Regions from separate parts of the Homo sapiens genome. Here regions 2 and 3 are each linked to region 1. Evidence: promoter capture Hi-C in 16 types of primary human blood cells and fetal thymus (Javierre and others, 2016). All regions are on one chromosome and are shown on one strand. Each heading gives the region's core, a stretch centred on a gene start or on the middle of the fragment in contact. The rest is flanking DNA. Distances are from core to core; before and after follow the strand shown.

Region 1 (4,648 bases), core at 783-3,282:
TAAATAATTCTGCTTGGTGATTGACATGCCATCTTCAACAGTAGAATACTTTATTTTATTCACCAAGTCATTTAAATTAAGATTGCATTGCCTTCAAAATTTCTGTCATTTCATATTCTGAAGTTACCTTCATGCACTGTTAGTATGTATAATTGGGCTAATTGTTTTAGGGATCTGCTTAATGTTGAAAATCTTTAATAATTAAAAACATTCTGAAACTCCTTTTGTACTCCTCATTTCTTCTCTAATTTCAGCTTTTTTTTTTTTTCAAAGCTAGACAAAATTTCATTTCACTTCCTCTTTTCATTTTGTCAAAGTACAGTGCTGAACATGAACTAAGAGTAGTAGAAATGCCATTTTGTGAGACACTCTCCTACGCTTCTTGGGAATGGGGATGCTCCATATTGATCAGACATGCAAAATTGTTAAAAATGTCTTCTATAAGAAACCCTGGCTCTTCCCCCCTCTTGGACAACAAAGGAACAACAAAGAATATCATTCTAAATTTTCCATTTCAGTGGAAATATGTTTAGTCTTAGTTTCTAAATATATATTTTCTTCTGGTAGGTGCTTTAGGATGACCTACCAAGTTGGGATTTAAGTTTTAAGAAAATGCGTTAGAAATAATTCTGAGCATATTTGAGTAACTGAGGCTAAGTAGACTTTTTTAGAGTGTTGCAAATTTTATTCTTCTGAAACTTTAGAAAAGTTTGCACCCTATAATCCTTTAACTGGTTACAGTTAAAAGGGGTAATGAAGCATATATTTTAATTCAGGTTTAGATGTCAGAGGAATCTAAGACACTAAAGAAGTGGGTCCATCGACAGGACAACAGATGGTATCTGGCACTGCAGTGGCAACTTGAACAGTTTCACATTTCACCCATCACCTTAATTTCTATCTTACCTTATGTCCTCTGTAAAAGGCAATTTCTTCTACATTGGCTATAATTCTCGAGTGCACATACCGCAAATAGCCTTTTCTATGTGCTTCCTCTGCCACCAGTTTGCCAAATTTGGGAGAACAGGCTTTTAACACTTTAGCAGTGGCATACACCACAAGTCCTGCTAGTAGGGTGGGCCCAATTGGGCTTGCTCCTCTGGATGTAGCAGTTTGAATGAGTGTATAGGAGGTCAGCATTACATCTAAAATAGGTTTGGTCAGATTGGAATACAAGTGAGCCACAGATTGGGAGAACATCATAATATCCTCCGTAAGAGATTGGTCAGGGTTTGCCAGCCTCCCATCCATATTGATCACTTTATAATAAGTCTGATTTGTAAAATAGGTTTCATAGGCGTGGTCTACTAGGCGAGTTCTGAAGGCCAAAGCCAATTTGCATTCCAGGTACCTTATTGCACTGTTGACGAAGGTAGCAGGGATGGCAATCATAAGCCACTTGATTAATTTGATGATGAAAGTCCGAGGCTTCTTTTCCACAATGCTTTTCACGATTTTTCCATCCAGACCAGCCACATAGATAGAAAGAAAGGTTCTTGAGATTAGAGCCACTGAGTGCAGGCAGAGCCACCCTGTTTCAGTGGTCACAAGTTTTGGAAACAAAATTTTCCGAAGTTCTAGTAGCTGTTTGAAGAAATCTGCATTCACTCCAGGCGAAGGTTTTTCACAAATGGTCTCGGTGCAATGCAGTATTTCTGTGTTCTCTGCAGCAGGGTAAGCTGCTGCTTTTTTCTTCCCGTGGCCAGATTGCTTTAAACGCTTGCCAATGATGGGATAGAGGGTTTTCAGAGCATATGCCGCAGCCACCAGGCAGGCAGCCCTCTTAGCAGCACTCGATCTGGTCCATTTCACTCGATCAGCTGCTGCATTTAGCATATGTGTCATTTTCCCAGTTACCCAAACCGGCTTCCAAAAGAATTCGTTTTAAAAGATCATGCTTCACAGAAATCCCCAGCAAATGTTTTAGAAAGTCCTACAGCGTCCCATAGTCTGCAGCGTTTCTCTTCCACTGTTGTGTTTTTAATTTTGTTCTGCTGTGACAGATGCAGCAGAGCTCAGACTCCGCTGCATCTACCGGGAATGATTCTCTCAGAAGCTCAAGCTGCACCAAGCTCCTCCCTCCCAGGCCCCTCATTGGCTGTGAGGGCGGTGGGACCTTGGAATCCTCGCAGCTTCCCTTTGAACCTTGAAAATGAGGAGAGAGCAAAGCGAATTACATCCTTCCTTAAACAGGAGTTCAGAGAGTTAAAATGTCTATTTTTGGAGAGGTCGAATCAGGCCATCTGCTGGCGAACAAAACCGGCTCTAGCTACTGAGCATGCTCAGTGTCACTTAGAAACCCACAGAAGTTTCAGAATATACATCACTTCGGTAAGATTTCAGTAGATACCGCAAACAGAAGAGCAAGCAGAAAGGGAGATTTCCAAGCGAACAAAACCGGCCCTAGCTACTGAGCATGCTCAATGTCACTTAGAAACCCGCAGAAGTTTCAGAATATACATCACTTCGGTAAGATTTCAGCAGCTACCGCAAACAGAAGAGCAAGCAGAAAGGGAGATTTGCAAGAGTTTTAATGAGACGAGGAGGGAGAAGGAACCACGAAAATGAGGGAGGAGGGACAAGAGGATCAACATAAAATGAATATGAAAAGGATATGGAATGAATCTGAAACGGATCAGAAAAGAAAGTGACAAGTGGGAGGGACACCGGAGAATGCCAAATATCAAATACACTTGGATCTGTTTTTCACAGATCCCCCCGGCTTTTTTGGGGGTCTGATTTCACAAAAGGTCTCAGAACCTAATAGACAAGTTGTAATCGAGGGTTTCCCTTGTAAATAAATAGGATAAAAGTCTTCCGTGTTACAGAAAATAATTATTTGCTATGCCTCTAGCCATTCTCCCTTTTTCCTCTGCATCCTACTTGTCCTTATGCTAAAAATCTTCCAGCCCCATAACTGGAGATCTGATGTACTCATATTTATTTACAAGGTGACGACTATTAAATAAATGAGAGCAATGTTTCATGTTTACTACTCCCATGTGTTAGGTAGTTTTTACTTGGAGTGGGGTAGCACTTATAGTGAAAGTTTAACCATTTGGGAATTCAGCTGGTGTTGGATGGTGGAAATAGCTTCTCTAGGACCTTACTTCATTTTTCAAGAATGCTTTGTCTTTTGCAGGTTTCTGCTTTGTTTGTTTTGTTTAGCTGTAGAGATAATCTACTGGCTACTTCCTATTTCCATTTGGTTATTTGATAAAAACTAAGAGTCTTAAAATTCTTCACATCCATAATGGAGGATTTAAATTGTTCAACAGTCAAGGACAATTCTGCATATTTTTGAAAATGTAAAAAGCTTTTTTTTTTTTTTTTTTTTTTTTTTTTATGAGACAGAGTCTCTCTCTGTCACCCAGGCTGGAGTGCAGTGGCACGATCTCAGCTCACTGCAGCCTCCGCCTCCCAGGTTGGTGCCTCAGCAGCCCGAGTAGCTGGGATTACGAGGGTGCGCCTACCATACTTGGCTAATTTCTGTAGTTTTAGTAGAGATGGGTTTTGCCATGTTTGCCAGGCTGGTCTCAACCTCCTGGCCTCAAGTGATCCACCTGCCTTAGCCTCCCAAAGTGCTCGGATTATAGACGTGGGCCACCACGCCCAGCCAAGAGCATTTTTTAAGTCAGGGCTGAGTATATTTTTGGATATGGAAAAACCATTTTTTTTGCTCTTCACTGTCCCCGCCCCCCATCTCATTAAAATTCTCGGAAATCTCCCTTTCTGCTTGCTCTTCTGCTTGTGGTATCTACTGAAATCTTACAAAAGTGATATATATTCTGAAACTTCTGGGGATTTCTAAGTGACACTGAGTATGCTCAGTAGCTACAGCCAGTTTTGTTCACCAGCAGCTGGCCCCCAACATACATACACATTTCCAGTCAATTAAAAGCTTAGGAAAATATGCATCAAGCTAGAACAGAAGTTGGCAAATTACAACTGGTGGGCCAAATCTAGCCTGCCACTTAATTTTATATGACCCTTAAGCTAGGAATGATTTTTACATTTTTAAAGTGGTTGAAAATACTTCAAAACAAGAATATTTTGTCCTGTGAAAATTATATAAAATTCTCATTTTTGTGTTTATAAATAAAGTTTTATTGGAAAACAGTCACACCCATTCATTTACTCTCTGTCTATGGCTTCTTTCAAGCCACAGTGGTGGATGCAACAAAGACTAAAATATGTACTATTTGGCCCTTTATAGAAGTTTGCAAACCTCTGTGCTAGAATATAAAACCCATCTCAGCATTAAATGATCTTCATTACTGAGTTTATCACAAAGAACTATCCTCACTTTCATAAGTAACCATATTCTTAAAATTTTAAAACTTCTTTCTTATGTACTCATATTAATTCTGACAATCATCACATATCTCTTCATTTGTTTGCATTCAATTCAGCAGACTGACTGACACATGAGTGTCAAACTCATGCAAGTTTTTTTGATAGCTGGCCATATTAGTAGCATAATCCATCATCCCATTAAGACTTTTTAAGCCTGTATGTACAGATAATAGTGGTCATGGAAGTTATTGCCAAAATCTTTTATTCCTAAGCTCTTGCTTTTGTTGTATGCAAGATAAGGTTGCCTTTCATTTATGTCACATCTCCTAACAGCTACACACAAAAGGGTTAG
Region 2 (4,648 bases), core at 795-3,294, 700 kb after region 1:
AAACCCCCTCGAAACTTGGAGGCTTAAAATGTGAACAATTTATCATTTCTCGTTCTTCTGTGGCTTGACTGGGCTCAGCTGCGTGGTTCTGCTCCACATGGTATTGGCAAGGGTTATTCACTTGGCTTCATTCATTAAACTGAGCTGGAAAGTGCAAGAAAGGTACATGCATGTTTTTGGAGTATTGGTGCTTCTCCATGTGGCCTATCATATGGCTAAGTTGGGCTTCCTCGTGGCACGGTGATCACAGAATAATTAGACATCTTTCATGGTGGCTGGTTACCAAGAGAAATGAAGCAGATTTTTTCTGTCCTCTTAAAGGCTAGGCCAAGGACTGGCAAAAATATTAATTCTGCTACATTCTAGTAACCAGAGCAACCACAAACCTAGCTCAGATTAAAGGGGAAGGAAAAGAGACTCTATATGAATAGCACCTATGTATAGGGATGGAAATGATGTGTCCATCTTTGGAAACTTCCACTATAAATAGTGGTAGCACGCTATAGATCCACTAGGAAAATCAAGCACAAACTCTTTAAAAAATAAGTGTATCTTAGTAAAATAGATTAGAATAACTAGATAATAATGGCTAACATACATGAGGTTAATATGTGCTTTTCAAAGATTAGCTCATGTAATTCTCACAGCAACCTTTCCAAATGGTACTTTATTAGCCCCTATGATACAGATGAAGAAATTGATTGACAGAGAGGTTGAATAATTTATCCAACGGTACACATTCAGGAAGAGGTAGAGTTAGAATTTCAAACCAAGTAGTTTGACTCCAGGGCCTATGAGTTTATACATTCATAGGGCTGATATTCAAATGAGAGAAGAGAAGTAATAAATAAACATATAATATGTTGAGTGGTACAGAGTGCTACAAAGAAAATATGAAGTGCAGTTGGAGATGAATTGTCAAAAAAGGTCTTAGCACTTAAAAAACACTAAAACAGCAAACAATTCTCTTTACCACCTAAACTGTAAGAGCGATCTGGAATTGCTATAAAGTACACAACATGGGAGAAGTCTTAAACAACAGTTTTTATTATTTATAGGCCCATTGCACACTGTCATTAAATACCAATATGTTCAATCAACCATGCATTCATTGATTCAATAAATACTGTACATACAAAATAGAAATACAGAAATGGGTAAGACAAGTCCTTGGGCCTAAGGACTTTATAACCTGGTATTTCACTCAACTACATGATAGCATAAATAATGTTTGCTTCTGTTTAAGTATTCCTTAAACATTATAGATCTCCCAAAGAAAATTAAATACAAACCTCTTTTTAAAGTGAATTTGACAAAGCAAAATAAATTGGAATATATAGATAAATATGCTAAAATTTGTCATATGTACTTTGCGTACTTTACATGTGTTATTTCATTCTCAGGGCAATCTAAGACAGTCACTTTTATTATCTCATTTTATAGAGAAGAAAGCTGTGCAGTAAAGAAATCAAATACCTTTCCCAAGGTTACAGAGCTAGTAGTAGAGCCTGGATTTGAATCTGGGTTCTGACTGATTTTTAACTGCCATGACAAGGATCAAAGCTCAAAGTGTGATCTCTGTGTTAGAAACATCGGGGTTGCTCTTTAAAAAAGCCGATTCTCAGGCCTCAACCCAGACCTACTGACCCAGACACTGCAAGTAGAATCCATCAAAATGCAGTAGTTACTTTGAGAATCATGAAACTCTGCTACACAGTCTGTCTTCCTATTCATGGAAGTCCTCTCCTAGTATATAAATGTGAAGTAATATTTCTATTTCAAACCTGTATTGATAACTGTCTGGAAGATAATTTTCCTGGGAATATATTATTGATGAGACTGCAAAACAGATGTGAGGTATTGGATTGATCTTTCCATTGTAGCTAGGGAAATACTGATGTTCATTGTTTCAGTGAAGTTCAATGATTTCCTATCCGAATTAACTCCCTTAATTTAACAATTTTTTTTTTTTTTTTGAGAGTGAATGCCCCTCTGGGCTTCTAGGCCACATGGTTGCTAGAGAAATTAGGTACTGTGTTGCACTTGAAAACACTAAAATCTTTCTGACTACTTTCACTGAGCAAAGAGACATAAAATGCTTTAAATTTGCAACATTTCAGAAAATAAATTTTAGTGATTATTTATGACTCGAATCTTTCAGATTTTGACAGTGAAAGTGGAAGGTTGTCCAAAACACCCTAAGGGCATTATTTCGCGTAGAGATGTGGAAAAATTTCTTTCAAAAAAAAGGAAATTTCCAAAGAACTACATGTCACAGTATTTTAAGCTCCTAGAAAAATTCCAGATTGCTTTGCCAATAGGAGAAGAATATTTGCTGGTTCCAAGCAGGTAAAGAAAACCTTAAAAAATTAATTGCTACATGGAAATTCACTATCTATTCTTTTAATTGTCAAACTAACTGTAGTCTATAATAGATGTATTAAATAAATAAATATATTTTGCTTCTAGTGTAAACCTCCTACTGACATGTATCATTTATTTTGGAATAAAACATTGCATCTGACACTTTAACAATATAGTAAATCACTTACTTTATGTGTATAGTTACTAGTTGGCTTATCACTGTTGAAATTATTTAAGAAAGGTAAATAGTGGAGATTAATGTGTGTGTGTGTCTGTGTTTGTGTATGTGTGTGTTCTTAAACAACACTGAGAGAGTTTATTAAGCAAGTTCTGAGAAGATAGTGAGTTTTCAACAGAATTTTAAAAGCATTTATGGCATCACAATGGATGCCTATGTTTTAGCCTATACTATGGAAATTTTTCCTACTGCTCTAAGCAACTGGGAAATTTATAAAGTAATATGATGTTGAAATGTGCAAATTACATTGATTGATGGATGCAGCCAATTTTAAAAATAAATATACACTTTTTTTCTAGGACATGTATTTTTCAGGATTTATATAAGATTACATTTGTCTATGCATAACTAATTGTAATAATTTATGTATTAGTGCACAGGGATTACCGAAAATATTTCATGCATCTACATCTGAGCATGCATTTGAATTGGTTATTGACCACTGAATTTTTGGTGTAGGAAAAATATGTAGTGAAACAATGTTACAAAAAGATTACAATTGTTTGGAATGATTACCTTCATTGACTTTAAGCAGTAAAATCATTTGCTCAACAAGGTTGGGTGTTTTGTGAGGCTGTATAACCATAGTGTCCTTTTGCCTTTAGTTTGTCTGACCACAGGCCTGTGATAGAGCTTCCCCATTGTGAGAACTCTGAAATTATCATCCGACTATATGAAATGCCTTATTTTCCAATGGGATTTTGGTCAAGATTAATCAATCGATTACTTGAGATTTCACCTTACATGCTTTCAGGGAGAGGTAAGTATCTAATGAAGACTTATTAGATTTTTAGAGACTATTAATTTAGACTTATTAATTTTTAGAGAAATTAGGGAGATGGCATATGAAAAGTAATATGCCATTTTCTCAGAGTTTACTTGTTTGGAAGGCAGCTGAAGAATTAGAAAATAAGCTCATAAAACCTTGGAGTAGGCAATCTAAAGACACACAAGCACATATAACCTCATCTAATTTGTCAGGAAGAAAATTCCTTAGGTGCTCACTCAGATCTTGACTGTGATTACATTGTAGGGACTGTAATTATCTCTTTTCTGTTGCACAGCCACTAAGACATTTACAAAAAAAGAGCAAATCCGGTGTTTATAATGCTAACTCTTTCTTCTAAAATAAATAGAGACATTTTGGTACTCCAAAGGGAAAATATCATTTTGGGGATTAAAATTAGCTTTACACAGGTGTTACTGGTTTCCAAAATAAACCTTACCTTGATTGGAATTAATCAACATATAGGTAGTTACATTGCATTAAAAAGTTCAGAAAGTTTTGCGTTTAGCATGATCAAAAACTTCTTTTTAAAAATTATGAGGATTTATTTATGATTTTCTTTCTTCATCTGTCGAGCATATTAAACTGCTTAACAGCATCAACCTGAAATGGATCTTAATGTGCAGGGGATTTAACTCTTTTTATTGTAAAGTTGTGGATAAAATATTTAATAGATATGGATGAGGACTCATATCAGTAACAACCCAATACTTTATTTCAAAATGAATAGATCTGTATTACAATCACTTGTGTTGTGTGCAGTAGATTTTTTCCCTTTAACTTAGGAAGCAGTTAATAATTAATGGCTCCATTTTTTAGAACGAGCACTTCGCCCAAACAGAATGTATTGGCGACAAGGCATTTACTTAAATTGGTCTCCTGAAGCTTATTGTCTGGTAGGATCTGAAGTCTTAGACAATCATCCAGAGAGTTTCTTAAAAATTACAGTTCCTTCTTGTAGAAAAGGTAAGGAAATCAATTTGAATGTTTTCAATTGCAACACTAAAGAAATTTAAACTTAAAAAAAAAAAAAACTTTACCTTAAAGCTTTGCGACAGTATGAGGTTTAGACAAGGTGTTGAGCTCTGTTTTGAATCATGTAGGCTGTATTCTTTTGGGCCAAGTTGTGGACCACATTGATTCTCTCATGGAAGAATGGTTTCCTGGGTTGCTGGAGATTGATATTTGTGGTGAAGGAGAAACTCTGTTGAAGAAATGGGCATTATATAGTTTTAATGATGGTGAAGAACATCAAAAAA
Region 3 (4,648 bases), core at 1,574-4,073, 530 kb after region 1:
GGCCCAATTCCAAAACACAATTTCTTCCTAAGATTTTGAAAAAAGAACATAAGTTATTAAATGGCCAAGGTACTGAAAGCACATTAAAAATATCAGTGAAGGGCATGTCTAGGGTTGAGCATTTAGAAATACTTAGAAATTTCATACACAGTAGGACTAATGATTGCTGTAGTGATGGGGCCCTTAAATAATTTTTGAACACTGTTTTTGATCATATTTTCCATTGAACAAGAGGCTAATCTTTATAGCAAACAAAATAAAACAACAATAACAGCAGCAATAAAACAAACTATAGAAAAATAGATAATTCTGTATTATCCTTATACTTGAAAAGGTTTGCCAAAGCCTCAATGAAGTATATTTAAGTTGAGCTAAATATGCTTGGAAGGAAATCTCAATTACAGATGCCAAAAGTTAGAAAGAAGAAAAAGGAGTCATGAAAAAGGAAAAGACAAGTTGACATAAGGTGTCATTTTACATCTCTTTGAAACTATTCTTTTAGATCTGTTTTACTTTATCAGTGGCATACTGAGGTAAGAACTGGAAGCATCAAGTTTTCTTATTGTGGAGAAAAATCCCTTGAGAATACTGAATACCTAAGCAGAATGGTATCTGAAATAATAGGTTATAGATAGGCATACTGGGTCTCATATTCATCCACTCATCCATTTATTTATTCATTCATACATCTGGTTTAGGACATTTATGATGTATTTATTATGTGCCAGTTTCTGACTTGAGCAATTTGATATATCTTATGCTATTTTAAATGTTATTTTCTTTAAGGATCTATTAATATTTCATTCTTGTGTATAAAAATGAAATACCTAGTAATGGAACTAACAAAAGATGTATGTGACCTTTGCAAAGAAAACTGTAAAACATTTTGAAAGACAACTCCAAATAAAAACAGTAACACAGCATGGATTACAAATGGATTAAAAGATTCGACATACTAAAGATGTCAATTTTTCCCCAACTGGTACTTATACTCAGTGTAATTCCACTCAAAACCCGATGGATTTTCTTGTAAAGAATGTCAAGGTGATTCTAAGGATATAAAAGACCAAAGGTTTAAAAATAGGTAAGACTATAGCAAACTGTATGCCTTATCAAATATATATATATAATAATTAAATAATGAAGTATTCACTCAAGAATAAGCAACGTGACCTGTGAAACAGAATAAAGAGTCCAGAATCAAATCTACATATAATTGGAAACTTAATTTATGACACAGCTGATCTTGCTGATAACAGAAGATAGAAAGAAATTTTTAAATAGTGCTGAAATAACTGATCATGCATGTGAAAATGTCAAAACTGAAATGTTACCTTACATATATAATATATTATCTAATATATTTGGAGCAACAAGTCACTCCAAAAACTTAGGGCTCAAAACAATAATAAATATCTTTTTGACACCGTTTCTGTAGGTCAGAAATTCAGGAAGAGCTTCTCTGGCAGTTCTGTCTTGAGTTTCTAATGAGGTTGCAGTGGAGATGTCAGGTGCCACAGTCTTCTGAAGGCTTGACTGAGACTAGAGCATGCACTTCTCAGATGGCTTTTACCCACATGGCTGTTACCAGCCAGTTCCTCACTGCTTCTTGGCTCAGTTTCAGCTCCTAGCCACATGGATGGCTCCATAGTGCTGCTTGAATGTCCTCATGACACAGAAGTTGGCTTCCCTCATAGCTAGAAATAAAAAAGAGAGGACAGGTGGAAATTACAATGCCTTTTGTTATCTAGGCTCAGAGATCTAACACCATCATTTTTGCATATCTTATTTATTATACAGGTCAGCCTTATTCAGTAAGTGGGGATACCACAGACAAGGGTATGAATATCCGGGGCAGGGATTATTGGTGCCATCTTGGAAGCTGGTTATCACATAATTAATTATAGGTAGATGAGAGAATTCTATAACACTTTATAAGACAATCTATAAGAAAATCTTTATGATTTCAGAGCAAAGACTTCTCAAAGAAGCAAAATACTCAAATTACAAAGAAAAAGACTATTTAATTCAACTATATTAAGAATAAGTTCATCTATTTAACAACAAAACAGCATAAAGTAGGAATCAAATCACAAATACCATATTTGCAGCAAATATGATTTAAAATTGTTAATATCCAGACTATAGAAAGAAATTCAAACCAACACTAAAAAGATAAATGATACAAAAGAAAAATGAGCAAAAGCTTTAAGTTCCTAAAAGAAGAAAGAGGAATGGTCTATATTAAAAGACGGACAGTTTCATTAGTAACCAGGGAAATGCAAAGTAAAGCCAAACTGTGATACCATTAAACACCCATTTGATTTGCAAAACTTAAGAAATGTGAAACAAAACAAAACAAAACAAAAAGAAAAAGAGAAAAAAATTTTTAAATTAATTAATTAAAAAACATTCTGAGACTATGATGACGTGGAACAATGGAAAACCTTCCACATGGCCAGCATGAGTGTAAATGGTCCAACCGTTTTGAATCACAATTTGGCGTCATGTGCCATAGTTGAGTTTGTGCATATCCAATTATCCAGCAATTCCTCTTCTGGAGAAAATACTACATATGTTTGTAGAAACACTGTATTAACAAAAAACTAAAAATAACTCAAACAACCAACAAAAGAATGGACAAATTGTAGGATACAATGGAATATCATACAGCTGTGGAAGGGTGGGAGTAAGTCTGCAGGAATTTTTTTTTAATTTAGAGACGTTATAACATACTTAAATGCACATGAGAAGTAACCCATAAAGAGGGGGGAGGATAAAGACTCTAGGAGAGAGTAAAAAAATGAGTAGTGTGAGATTCCTGAAAGGCAAATGAAAAAGAATATGGAGACAAAGGAAAGGATTTCTTCATTACACATGATGCAGGAGGTAAGGATGGATATGCATTTATTCAGTAAATATTTACTATTATCCCTTCCATGCCAGGCTCTGTCGTTGCTACTAAGGATGCAAGTAGATTTGAAAATTGGGGACCGGGCATGGTGGCTCACGCCTGTAATCCCAGCACTTTGGGAGGACAAGGCAGGCAGATCACAAGGTGAGCAGATCGAGGCCATCCTGGCTAACAAGGTGAAACCCCGTCTCTACTAAAAATACAAAAAATTAGCTGGGCGTGGTGGCGGGCGCCTGTAGTCCCAGCTACTCCGGAGGCTGAGGCAGGAGAATGGTGTGAACCCGGGAGGCAGAGCTTGCAGTGAGCAGAGATGGCGCCACTGTACTCCAGCCTGGGAGACAAAGTGAGATTCCGTCTCAAACAAACAAACAAAAAAAAAAAAAAAAAAAAAAAGAAAAAGAAAAAGAAAAAAAAAGAAAAAAAGAAAAAAGAAAATTGGGTGATAGGAATATGATGGAATGTCTACTTAATGGCTCTCATGTTCCTTGTGAAGTAGGTGGTAAAGTCATCTCCTGGGGGTGAGGGGAAAGCTTGGGGCTTTAGGTTTAAGGAGAGTGAAGATTAAAAATTGTATACAGAACAGGAGAGCAAGTAGGGAAGGAAATAAAGCAGCACGGTTGGGCAGTGTTCAAAGCCTAGCTAAGGTTAGTGAATTTATGGACAGAATTCCCAGTTGTACCACTTTCTCCAGCTAGCTCAGTGCTAGCATATATATATATATATAAATATATATAAAATATATATAAATATATATAAATATATATAAAATATATATATAAATATATATATATAAATATATAAAATATATATATATATATAAATATATATATAAATATATATAAATATATATATAAATATATATATAAATATATATAAATATATATATAAATATATATAAATATATATATAAATATATATATATAAATATATATGAATATATATAAATGTATATATAAATACATATAAATATATATAAATATATATAAATATATATATAAATATATATAAATATATATAAGTATGTATATAAATATATAAATATATATAAGTATATATATAAATATATATATAAATATATATAAATATATATAAGTATATATATAAATATATATAAATATATATAAGTATATATATAAATATATATATAAATATATATATAAATATATATAAATATATATAAATATATATATAAATATATATATAAATATATATATAAATATATATATAAATATATATATAAATATATATATAAATATATATATATAAATATATATAAATATATACATATAAATATATATTTATATATATATATATTTTTTCCCCCCAGCAGGTTCAAACAAGAGGACAACATAGCAGAAAAATGTAGGACATGTAGGACACTGGCAAGAGGTTTTTTGAAATAACAGATAGCTGCCAGTGAGTTTGCTGATTAAAATCCTGGAGAGCCATGCGTGGTGGCGCATGCCTGTAGCTCCAGCTACTCTGGAGGCTCCCTTAAGATTGCAGTGAGCCATGACTGCACTCCAGCCTGGGCGACAGAGTGAGACCCCGTCTCTAAAAAAAAATTCTGAAGGAGAATGTATCATTTGAGTGTATCCAGGAATCAAGTAAAGTTATTACATATTTATTTGATGAGAAATACAAGTGTTTAAAACCACAAGTAAAGAGGAGTTAATGTCCTGTTGGAAGGAAACTGACCGATGAGAGACCCGAGATCGAAAGGGTCCTGCAGAT

What was found. The method cuts DNA at HindIII sites, captures the fragments that hold promoters and counts their contacts. A CHiCAGO score of 5 or more calls a contact.
Region 2: a fragment that was not itself captured here is called in contact with the fragment with the promoter of ABCD2 in region 1 in 1 of 17 cell types (total B cells); the score reaches 5.6 in total B cells.
Region 3: a contact is called between a fragment that was not itself captured here and the fragment with the promoter of ABCD2 in region 1, in 2 of 17 cell types (total CD4 T cells and naive CD4 T cells). The highest score is 8.6, in total CD4 T cells.

The regions. Positions count from the first base shown.
Region 1 is chr12:39,617,771-39,622,418 of GRCh38, forward strand. It overlaps ABCD2 (ATP binding cassette subfamily D member 2), which reads right to left and starts at 2,033. Exons shown (of 10, transcript NM_005164.4): 1 at 907-2,033. The coding sequence starts at 1,845. RefSeq lists enhancers at 1,435-1,514, 1,825-2,344, 3,574-3,653. The HindIII fragment of the contact is 3,952 bases long and covers 1-3,314 here.
Region 2 is chr12:40,317,827-40,322,474 of GRCh38, forward strand. LRRK2 (leucine rich repeat kinase 2) reads left to right here. Exons shown (of 51, transcript NM_198578.4): 34 at 2,162-2,349; 35 at 3,208-3,362; 36 at 4,209-4,355; 37 at 4,493-4,648. Among named protein-coding and RNA genes, the nearest start is that of MUC19, 73 kb to the right of the region's middle. The HindIII fragment of the contact is 4,455 bases long and covers 1-4,272 here.
Region 3 is chr12:40,142,608-40,147,255 of GRCh38, forward strand. It overlaps LRRK2-DT (LRRK2 divergent transcript), which reads right to left. Exons shown (of 9, transcript NR_186757.1): 8 at 1,428-1,697; 9 at 1-27. Among named protein-coding and RNA genes, the nearest start is that of LINC02471, 11 kb to the right of the region's middle. The HindIII fragment of the contact is 1,238 bases long and covers 2,205-3,442 here.